Regions from separate parts of the Homo sapiens genome. Here region 2 is linked to region 1. The links are contacts of gene promoters, found by promoter capture Hi-C in human tissues and cell types (Jung and others, 2019). All regions are on one chromosome and are shown on one strand. Each heading gives the region's core, a stretch centred on a gene start or on the middle of the fragment in contact. The rest is flanking DNA. Distances are from core to core; before and after follow the strand shown. Region 1 holds the start of OR1N1 (olfactory receptor family 1 subfamily N member 1). Region 2 has its middle 7.7 kb from the start of OR1Q1.

What was found. Contacts are between HindIII fragments. The study calls those that stand out against the background at their distance.
Region 2: a contact is called between a fragment that was not itself captured here and the fragment with the promoter of OR1N1 in region 1, in 2 of the 25 tissues and cell types used here (IMR-90 fibroblasts and mesendoderm cells).

What each region holds. Positions count from the first base shown.
Region 1 is chr9:122,525,176-122,529,839 of GRCh38, forward strand. It overlaps OR1N1 (olfactory receptor family 1 subfamily N member 1), which reads right to left and starts at 2,118. Exons shown (of 1, transcript NM_012363.1): 1 at 1,183-2,118. The coding sequence starts at 2,118. The coding sequence ends at 1,183. It also overlaps a transcript of OR1J2 not described here. The HindIII fragment of the contact is 9,333 bases long and covers 1-4,664 here.
Region 2 is chr9:122,604,728-122,609,391 of GRCh38, forward strand. It overlaps the pseudogene OR1H1P. Among named protein-coding and RNA genes, the nearest start is that of OR1Q1, 7.7 kb to the right of the region's middle. The HindIII fragment of the contact is 3,849 bases long and covers 714-4,562 here.

The DNA of each region.
Region 1 (4,664 bases), core at 868-3,367:
AACAGACTTCCAGTTCCAGGTCATGAAATAAATGGAATCCTCGCGTACTAAGATGTGGCATCTAAATGATTCACATTTGTACTTACTAATAGCTGAAGCCTGGAACAGTTTGATTCCATGAAAGATGCTCCATAAGTATTCATTGAAAAAGTGCAGCAATCATAAAACATTTTAGAATAGGTTAGGTCTGAGAAACAAACTTAAATGAGGAAGGAGTTTAGGTAGCCAGTGGACACCTGGTGATACCAGATGTAAGAAATCAAAACTATATAGCCCTTATATTTAAAATAATATTTTTAATATTTCTAAGATTCTTGGAGACAGATAGAATGCCATTTACCTTCAAACATCATTTTTTCCATCTCTGCAACTAATTTAAGCTGCTGGTGCCCCTTTTAGATGTGGACGCAAACCTGCAGTCAAATAAGGAGAGAGGATTTCCACGTTCCTCTCATCTAATAGTCACTAAAAGGATGGTGGCATTGCACGTTTCTGACCAGCATGGGGCAGAGGTAGCACAAGGAGCTTTAACCCCCTTCCTAGTGAAACATTAGCCAACCGTGGGGTGGGCAACCCGCATGGAAACCTAAACATTGAATTTGAACCTTTTGATGGGGATCTCTTTAGCTATTCTGCAGCACATGGAATGCAGCCTCCATCTTTATTTCTTTTGTCTTACTCCCCACTTAATGCCACAAACAAAACAAGTGCCCCCAAAATTTTAATGATCGACAAATTAATAACCTAGAATGAAAGTGTCATGAAAGCAGGGACTTTGTCTTGCTCAGTGTCATAACCCTAGCACTTACAATAACTTCCAACACACCATAGATAGTAAATATTTATTGAACAAATATATCTCAGAGAAAAGATTTTTTGACTTCTGAGTTGGGGGAGGAATGAAGAATACTAATAGTAATAATAATAGCTATCCCTTATTGAACACCTACTGTTATTCACTACTATACTGAATGCATTTCATAGTTTATTTCAGTTAATCCTCCAAGTTACATTATTAGATAGAAACTGTTATCTCCATTTTATAAATGAGAAAACCAAGGCTCAGAGAGGCTAAGTAACCAGACTACAATCTTATGGCTAGTGTGTGGTAGACCCCAAAATGAAGCCCGTTTGTCTGACTCCAAGCCTATGTCTTTTCATTAAATGTTGCTGTCACCACATCTAAGAGGAAACAATACTCCTGTGACTGAAGAGCCTCTTTAGGGCCCCCTTCATGTCCTTGTTCCTTAGGCTATAGATAAAGGGGTTCAACATGGGAGTCACTATGGTGTACATTGCAGCTGCTGCAATGTCCTTCTCTTCAGAGGCAATGGAGGGAGGACACAGGTAGGCACTGAAGAGGGTCCCATAGAACACACAAACAACGCAGAGGTGGGAACTGCAGGTGGAAAAGGCCTTGCCCACCCCACCACGGGTTCGGACCCTCAGGATAGCTGGCACAATGTGGATGTAGGAGGTGACAATGCATAAAAAGGGGACGATGAGTACGGTGCCTCCCAAGACAAAAACCATCATCTCGTTGATGTGGGTGTCAGAACATGACAGCTTCAGGACAGGAGTGATGTCACAGAAAAAGTGAGCAATTTCCCCAGTCACACAGAAGGACAACCGAGCCATGAGGAACGTGTGAGTCAGGGCAACGATATTGGTGAGGACCCAGCACAATGCAAGCATTAGGGCACAGACTTGGGGCCTCATGACTGTGGAGTAGCAGAGGGGGTGGCAAATGGCCACATAGCGGTCATACGCCATGGCAGCCAGGAAGAAGCTGTCTAGATCACCAAACATCAGAAAGAAATACATTTGCGTGAGGCAACCCGTATAGGAGATGGTGTGATGCCGAGTCTGTATATTCACCAGCATCTTGGTAACTGTGGAGGACGTTAAACCCATGTCAACAAAAGACAGGTTGGCCAAGAAAAAGTACATGGGGGTGTGGAGGTGCAGGTCAGAGCCAATGGCCAGGATGATGAGCAGGTTCCCAGTCAAGGTGACAAGATACATACACAGGAAAATTCCGAAGAGGGACTGCTGTTGCTCTGGAGGCGCTGATATTCCTCGGAGGAAAAATTCAGAAATGCTGGATTGGTTTTCCATGACTCTGCAGCATCTGGAGCTGAGGGAAGACAGTTAGAATGCTAGATTTCATCTACAACTGTGTGGGCTGACTCCCAAATCTCCCTTTAAGTTCATTATATTCCTAATCCTGACTTTATCTTCATTCTGATCCTGCTTCTTTTCTCTCTTCATCAGAGTCTCATTTTCCCCCTTTCTCCTCTCTTTACCACTATTTAATCTTTTACACATAGAGTCCCCTTCCAATAAGGTCAGGGCATATTCTCCCTTGGCATGACCATGCCTTAGACTAGTCTATAGCCTCATGTTAGTTTCATTTTTGCAGTAGGCTGTCTATGTGAGTAGACTGAGGTCAGCTAAATTTTACATTCTTTTGGGAGGTAGCCAAAAAACCCACACAAAATTCTTAATTTTGACACATCCTCATTCATTTTAGAGTGAAGGGCATATGAAGGACTCATGCCTCTTTATTTTTTCATTATTTCTTTTGAAAAAGAAAATACGAAGTCCTGCATTTCTCCCTGCATTTGAGTTTTTGTCATTGGCATCATCATCATCCTGTAGCTAACGCATATTACATGTTAGCCACATATATGACAGGTACTCTACTAAGTACTTTATGAAGATTGTTTCCTTTAATCCTTAAACAACACTAGGATGCAGAGATTGTTATTCTTACCCTTATATAAGAAAACTGAGTCTAAGGATGTTTAAGTAAATTGTACAAGGACCCAGAGCTCATAAATATTTGAGACAGAATTCAAACCCACAGCAATGGTTTCCAGAGACTGTACCATCAGTCAATATAGATAGAAAGTAACTTTCTAGGACCACATTTATATTTAATCCCTCAGTATTCTTAGTTTAACGTATTTAGTCTCACTTGCCTTTACTATCTTTTATATGTGTGTTTTACAGAAGAACAACGAAATTTAAGAACTAGATAGAACCTGAAAGATCACCTGGCCCAGAGGTCTCAAGCATTGGTCTGTAGACCAGTTTATCATAATCAAGTGAGATGCTTATTTAAAATCCTGATCCCGGCTGGGCACAGTGGCTCATGCCTGTAATCCCAGCACTTTGGGAGACCGAGGCAGGCGGATCTACCTGAGGTCAGTAGTTCAAGACCAGCCTGACCAACATGACAAAACCCCATCTCTATTAAAAATACAAAAATTAGCCGGGTGTGGTGGCATGTGCCTGTAATCCCAGCTACTTGGTAGGCTGAGGCCGGAGAAGCACTTGAGCCTGGGAGTTGGAGGTTGCAGTGAGCCGAGATCATGCCATTGCACTCCAGCCTGGGCAATAGAGCAAGACTCCGTCTAAAATAAATAAATAAATAAAGATAAAAATAATAATCCCTACCTCAGACCTGTCAAATTTAAATTTCTAGGATACAATTTAGGTACCTGTATTTAAAAACTAAAACTGAAGGCTTCTCAGGTATTTTGATGCTCAGTGAGGATTAAGAAAATTTTGCTTAGTCCAACTCCTCCCTTTGATTCAGATAAATAAGCTAAAGTTCAAAAGACCAAAGTGATTGAAAAAGTTTACACTATGTCTTGGAGGAAGATACGGTATGAAAACCAGGGTATCAATGCTCTCAGACAGGTGTTCTTTTTAAAAATCAGCTATCTTTTCATTTTTAGAATTCTTTGTCATTAATATCTTACAGATCTAGATGTGTTTCTTTGTCCTGATTTATATTTAGAGTCTATACCTGAATAAAAAGTTATCTTCAAATTGATAGCTTTACTAAAGCACTGTTTGTATTCTGAAGTGGATAGCAACATCTGAGAACTATTGCGTATGTATCTATCCCTGAACCCTACACTGACTGAAGAACATCTCAGGGTTTTACAACTTTTCTGAGGGATCTGAGGCTACAGTCCAAGTTATTTTCTCCCCTACTTCAGCACTTGATAAGGCACCCTCTGACAGGGCACATTCTAATAGCCATGTCCAGAAGGGTAAGAGATCCTCTTATGATTCAGCTGATTGTTTGTCTCATCAAAAGAAGGGCTACACAGTGGCAGACAATGCCATATTTTCCTAGCATGCAGACCCTGCCTTCAGCAAGCAAGTCCTTTCATTGAGGTTTTCAAAGGGACAGTAAGTTATTTTAGGGAAGAGCAGCATCTTTTTGATCATTTGTGTTGGCATATACTGCCTTAATCAGGCTATTTCTATGGAGGTTCTTTGATCTAGGGCACCAACTGCTTAACATCAGAAAACTCCCCAAATCCTCAAAAAAGGGTCCAAAGCAGCCTAGCTTTTTACCTTCTGTCGTATTTTTTGGTCTCTACTCAAGCACTCTGCACCATCTCTTGCTCTATTTTTGGTTTTTCTCTTTCCCTAAAAGGGTTTCTCATCCTTCATCCTATCTATGGCCTCATAAAACTCTGTAGATCCTTGAGATATCAATGGGGTTCTTCCAGAAACTTGGGGCAATCCTTCCCTCTGTCATCCGAGGGTGATGAGGTCTCTTTACTTACCTCCAACTGCCTCTTCGTCTACTGTGTCAGCCAACAGGTAAGAGCTGGCTGGAACATGATGGACAGAGTATT
Region 2 (4,664 bases), core at 1,388-3,887, 80 kb after region 1:
AGACCATCTAAAGCTTAGATTTTTAAATCCAAGTGGCCAGGAGAAGAGAAACCAAGGATTCATTTACCCTTCTTCACAGGCAGGGAAACTATAATAGATTTCAGAGACAATAAATGAATTATTCAAACCCATATTATTGGGCTTGATGCAGAAGGCTAATTAAGATTTTCTTAGTGCAAACTAAAGTTTTTTTTACCATTACACTGTTCAACCTAAATATTCTCTTCAGAAACAAATAAGTGAGTCTAATGCACTGTTTTTAAGTGTATAGATACAGTAGAGTTCAGATTTTGAGTAGCGGATAAGAAATGCTCCCCAGACGGGCTGGGCACGGTGGCTCACGCCTGTAATCCCAGCACTTTGGGAGGCCGAGGCGGGCGGATCACGAGGCCAGGAGTTCAAGACCAGCCTGGCCAAGATGGTGAAACCCCGTCTCTAATAAAAACACAAAAATTAGCTGGGCGTGGTGGAAAGCGCCTGTAATCCGAGCTACTCAGGAGGCTGAGGCAGAGAATTGCTTGAACTCGGGAGGCAAAGTTTGCAGTGAGCCGAGATTGCACCACTGCACTCCAGCCTGGGCAACAGAGCGAAACTCCATCTCAAAAAAAAAAAAAAAAAAAAATGAAATGCTCCCCAGATGATTGTGAGACACACCTTCAGCTTAAACCCACTGACCAGGATGTGACAGTATCTATCATCATAATAAAATTGAAACCGAATGACATACCTTTTCCCCAAAGTCAATTGTTTTAAGTTTTATTAGTTTACTTGCTTAGAATTTCTGGATAATTCTGAGAACATTAATTCATGTTAATAAAATTTTATTTGGAGTCAATGTAATTGGACTGCATGTTTTTATTAAATAATGAAATTCCTTTATTCATTATTTAATAAAAACTTGCAACCTGAAGGTGTGTATCCCTTGGGAAAGAAAAGTGTAAACTGGAATAAATGTTACTTGTTTCTAACTCTTACTGTAAAGATGATATAAATAAATGAATATGACAAAAATTATCACTGTACATCTGCTATCTGCTTAGCTTCTGAATCTGGACTTGGTTGCAATTAGGGGGAGAGGAGCTACAGATACCAGGAAGGAAGGAGTCTGTTGCTTTCAGGATAGCTCCATCTCAGAGTACAAATCAAGTGTAAAAATTGGATCTTGTCCAGACATTGGATTGGACCAAAGTAGACTAACTCACGTCAATCATGTTCACAAAAGATTGAGGCATAAGCCAAAAATATCCACATCTTCATTTGCTTTGAGAACTGCAACTGTCAAATTGAATGGATATTTAAATTCCCTGATGGTGCATTCCCTCCTTATAGAAAATATGCATGAGACTGAACTAGAGTCAGAAAATGACTTGGTGAATATTGAAAGGCAGTGTAGCACAGTGGTTTAGAACTTAAGCTTTTGACTCAGACAAACTTCACTTCAATACCTGCTGCTGTAGACTTCAGCAATTGCATCGCCACCCTGAACTTCAGTTTCTACATTTTTAAATAAAGATATTCACAGTGCTGGTGCACAGGGCTATCACTTAAGTGAATTCAGAACCTGGCAATGGCTAGTGCTCAGCCAGTATTAGCTATGATTATTACTCCAACTTTTTTCATAGTGTCAGAACAAGGGCTGTGGATTGGATAAACTTAATGTCCAGTATTATCTATTTAAGAGATCCTGGTATATCCTCACTATGGCTTCTGTGGGAAAAAAGGAATTTCAAGTCCCAAATCAAGGTATTCTTTGAGCGGCACTAGAGACAAATTAAGGTGTGGCTTTGGGGGCAAATGAAGGATTTGACACCTTCTATTTAGATGTAAAATATATAAATCTCATAAATAAATATAATAAGGCAAGGAAGGGTTCAGGAGCTGGAATAGACCATCTAAAGTTTAGGTTTTTAAATCCAAGGGGCCAGGAGAAGCCAAACTGACTGGAGAAGCACCTGTGAGTGAGGAGCACCTCTGAGTGAGGAGCATCTGTGAGGAGCACCTGTGAGGACCACCTATCCTATGTGGAGCACCTGTGAGTGAGGAGCACCTATCCTATGAGTGAGGAGCACCTATCCTATGAGTGAGAAGCACCTCTGAGTAAGGATCATCTGTGAGTGAGGAGCACCTATGAGTGAGGAGCATCTATGAGTGAGGAGCACCTGCAAGAAGCACCTGTGAGTGAGGAGCACCTATCTTATGAGTGAGGAGTACCTGCGAGTGAGGTATATCAGAGGTGTTAGGGAAAGCATGTGTCATTCCCAGGCATGCTTGGGGATACTGGAGCAGAATTCAATGCATTTCCTGTAGCTTTTCTTAGGGAAAGCCAAAATATTACTCTAAGTAAAGTGACTATGATGAAAAAGTCTTGCTCCATAACTTCAATTTTTTTTCTTTGCACAAAGTCAAATGATTTGATTTTTGTTCTACTTACTTGCCAGAGCTGCTTTTTAGAGATGACACCCTGGTTAACTTGTCAGAATTCTGGGTCTCTCAAAATCTCCATATTGGCTTCTGGACCACCATTTAAATTAGTTCAACCCATCACATCCATCACACTTAAAAATAATCTTTTACTTTCAAAAATAACACATGCTAGTAAAAGAAATGGTGTGTGTCATACAGAAGTTGACACCCACCATTCTTCCCCCCACACTCACTCCCTAGAAGCAAACATTATCCATCTTTTGAGTGTGTTCTTCTAGATTGTGTTCTTATTCATACACAAATATTTCTGTTTCATTTTTACTTAACTGTAACTATGCGTATACACACTGTTCTGGTATTTTACATTTTTTACTTAATTATATTATTACTAAGAGAAAAGTACTTGTGTAAACAGATAGGACATGTACAATCCAAGGCACACTTTTACTGGTGGCTGATATGTATCATATGGACAGCTGAAATAGTTCAAAGGAGCCTTAGATATCTTATCAAATACTGACACCAATCGATAACTTGACAAATGGTCTGACCCAAACTTTTTAACATGCACAATAATAAATCCAAGCTTTCTCAAAACAGAATTATTTAACCACAGAATTTTTTCAAACAGGAGTTTGAAGTACTTTTAACACAGCATTATTTTACTCTTTTGCTACTTATAACAAAATGTATTTCACACAGAATTTGAGACATGGACAGAAGAAACCAGACCTGCATCTATGAATTTCTTCTCATGGGCTTCTCTGAACACCAGGAGCAGCAGGCTCTTTTGTTTGGGCTTTTCCTGGTCATGTACTTGGTCACTGTGTTGGAGAACCTGCTAATCATCCTGGCCATTGGCTCTGACCTGCACCTCCACACCCCCCATGTACCTCTTCCTGTCCAACCTGTCCTTTTTGGATATTGGCTTTATCTCTACAATAATTCCCAATATGCTAGATCATATTAGCTCAGGAATTAAGCTGATTTCTTATGGGGAGTGTCTGACACAACTCTATTTCTCTGGCCTATTTGCAGATCTGGACAACAACTTTCTCCTGGCTGTGATGGCCCTTGACCGCTATGTGGCCATCAGCCATCCTCTCCATTATGCCCTAACCATGAACTCCCAACGCTGTGTCCTGTTGGTGGCTGTGTCATGGGTGATCACTATTTTACATGCCCTAGTGCATACCCTCCTAGTGACCAGGCTTTCCTTCTGTGGTCCAAATATTATCCCTCACTTCTTCTGTGATCTGGTCCCACTCCTGAAGCTGGCCTGCTCCAGTACTTGTGTCAATGATCTGGTGCTCATCCTTGTGGCAGGAACACTGCTGATTGCGCCCTTTGTCTGCATCCTTATGTCCTACTTTTACATTGCATTGGCCATCCTGAGAATTGATTCCCCAAGGGGTAAGCAAAGGGCCTTCTCCAGCTGCACTTCCCACCTCTCTGTAGTCTCTCTGTTCTATAGCACAGCTATCGGTGTCTATTTATGTCCTCCATCATCCCACTCAGATGGAAAGGACAGAGTCTTCTCAGTCATGTACACGGTGGTGACTCCCATGTTGAACCCCTTCATCTACAGCCTGAGGAACAGGGATATGAAGGGGGCACTGGGAAAACTGCTTGGAATAAAAACATCCTAACACCCTTACTCAAGACCTTAGGATCCTGACCCCAAGACTCAGAGCTGGGAGTGGATCAGTCTCCTGAGAGCCCAACCACTATAGCGTCTCTCAGCCCAAGACTTCATTGTTGCCATGTTTACATTTTGAAATGGATGAGGAGAGAACCAGTGATATCAGTCATCTTTAATCATCTTCACAAAATGTTCATGCCCTGACTAGTTCATTATCCACTCTCAGAATTGTTGTTTGTTTTTGCCAAATGCCTGCATGTGGGGGACTTGTATGCATATAAAATGAAAACAAAAGCCTAAATTTTTGATTAGCTCAAGTTATAAAGGAATTCCAGTAAGTGGCATGAGGGGGAAATGTGGAAATGTTTAGAACTTGTGGTACATCTAATATCCTCTGAAATGTCTTAAAAATAATGATGTAGGTCTGAGAGTGCTGTAGGAGGTCCATGATATATTGATGAGAGAAACAAAGAAAGCTCCAGAACAAATGATCCTATTTTTATAAAAACAAAATTTTATATATGCATGTTCATATGTGCATAGAAATTGTCTAAATGGGTACATGTCACAATAATAGCAATTACTCCTAGAGAGAAAT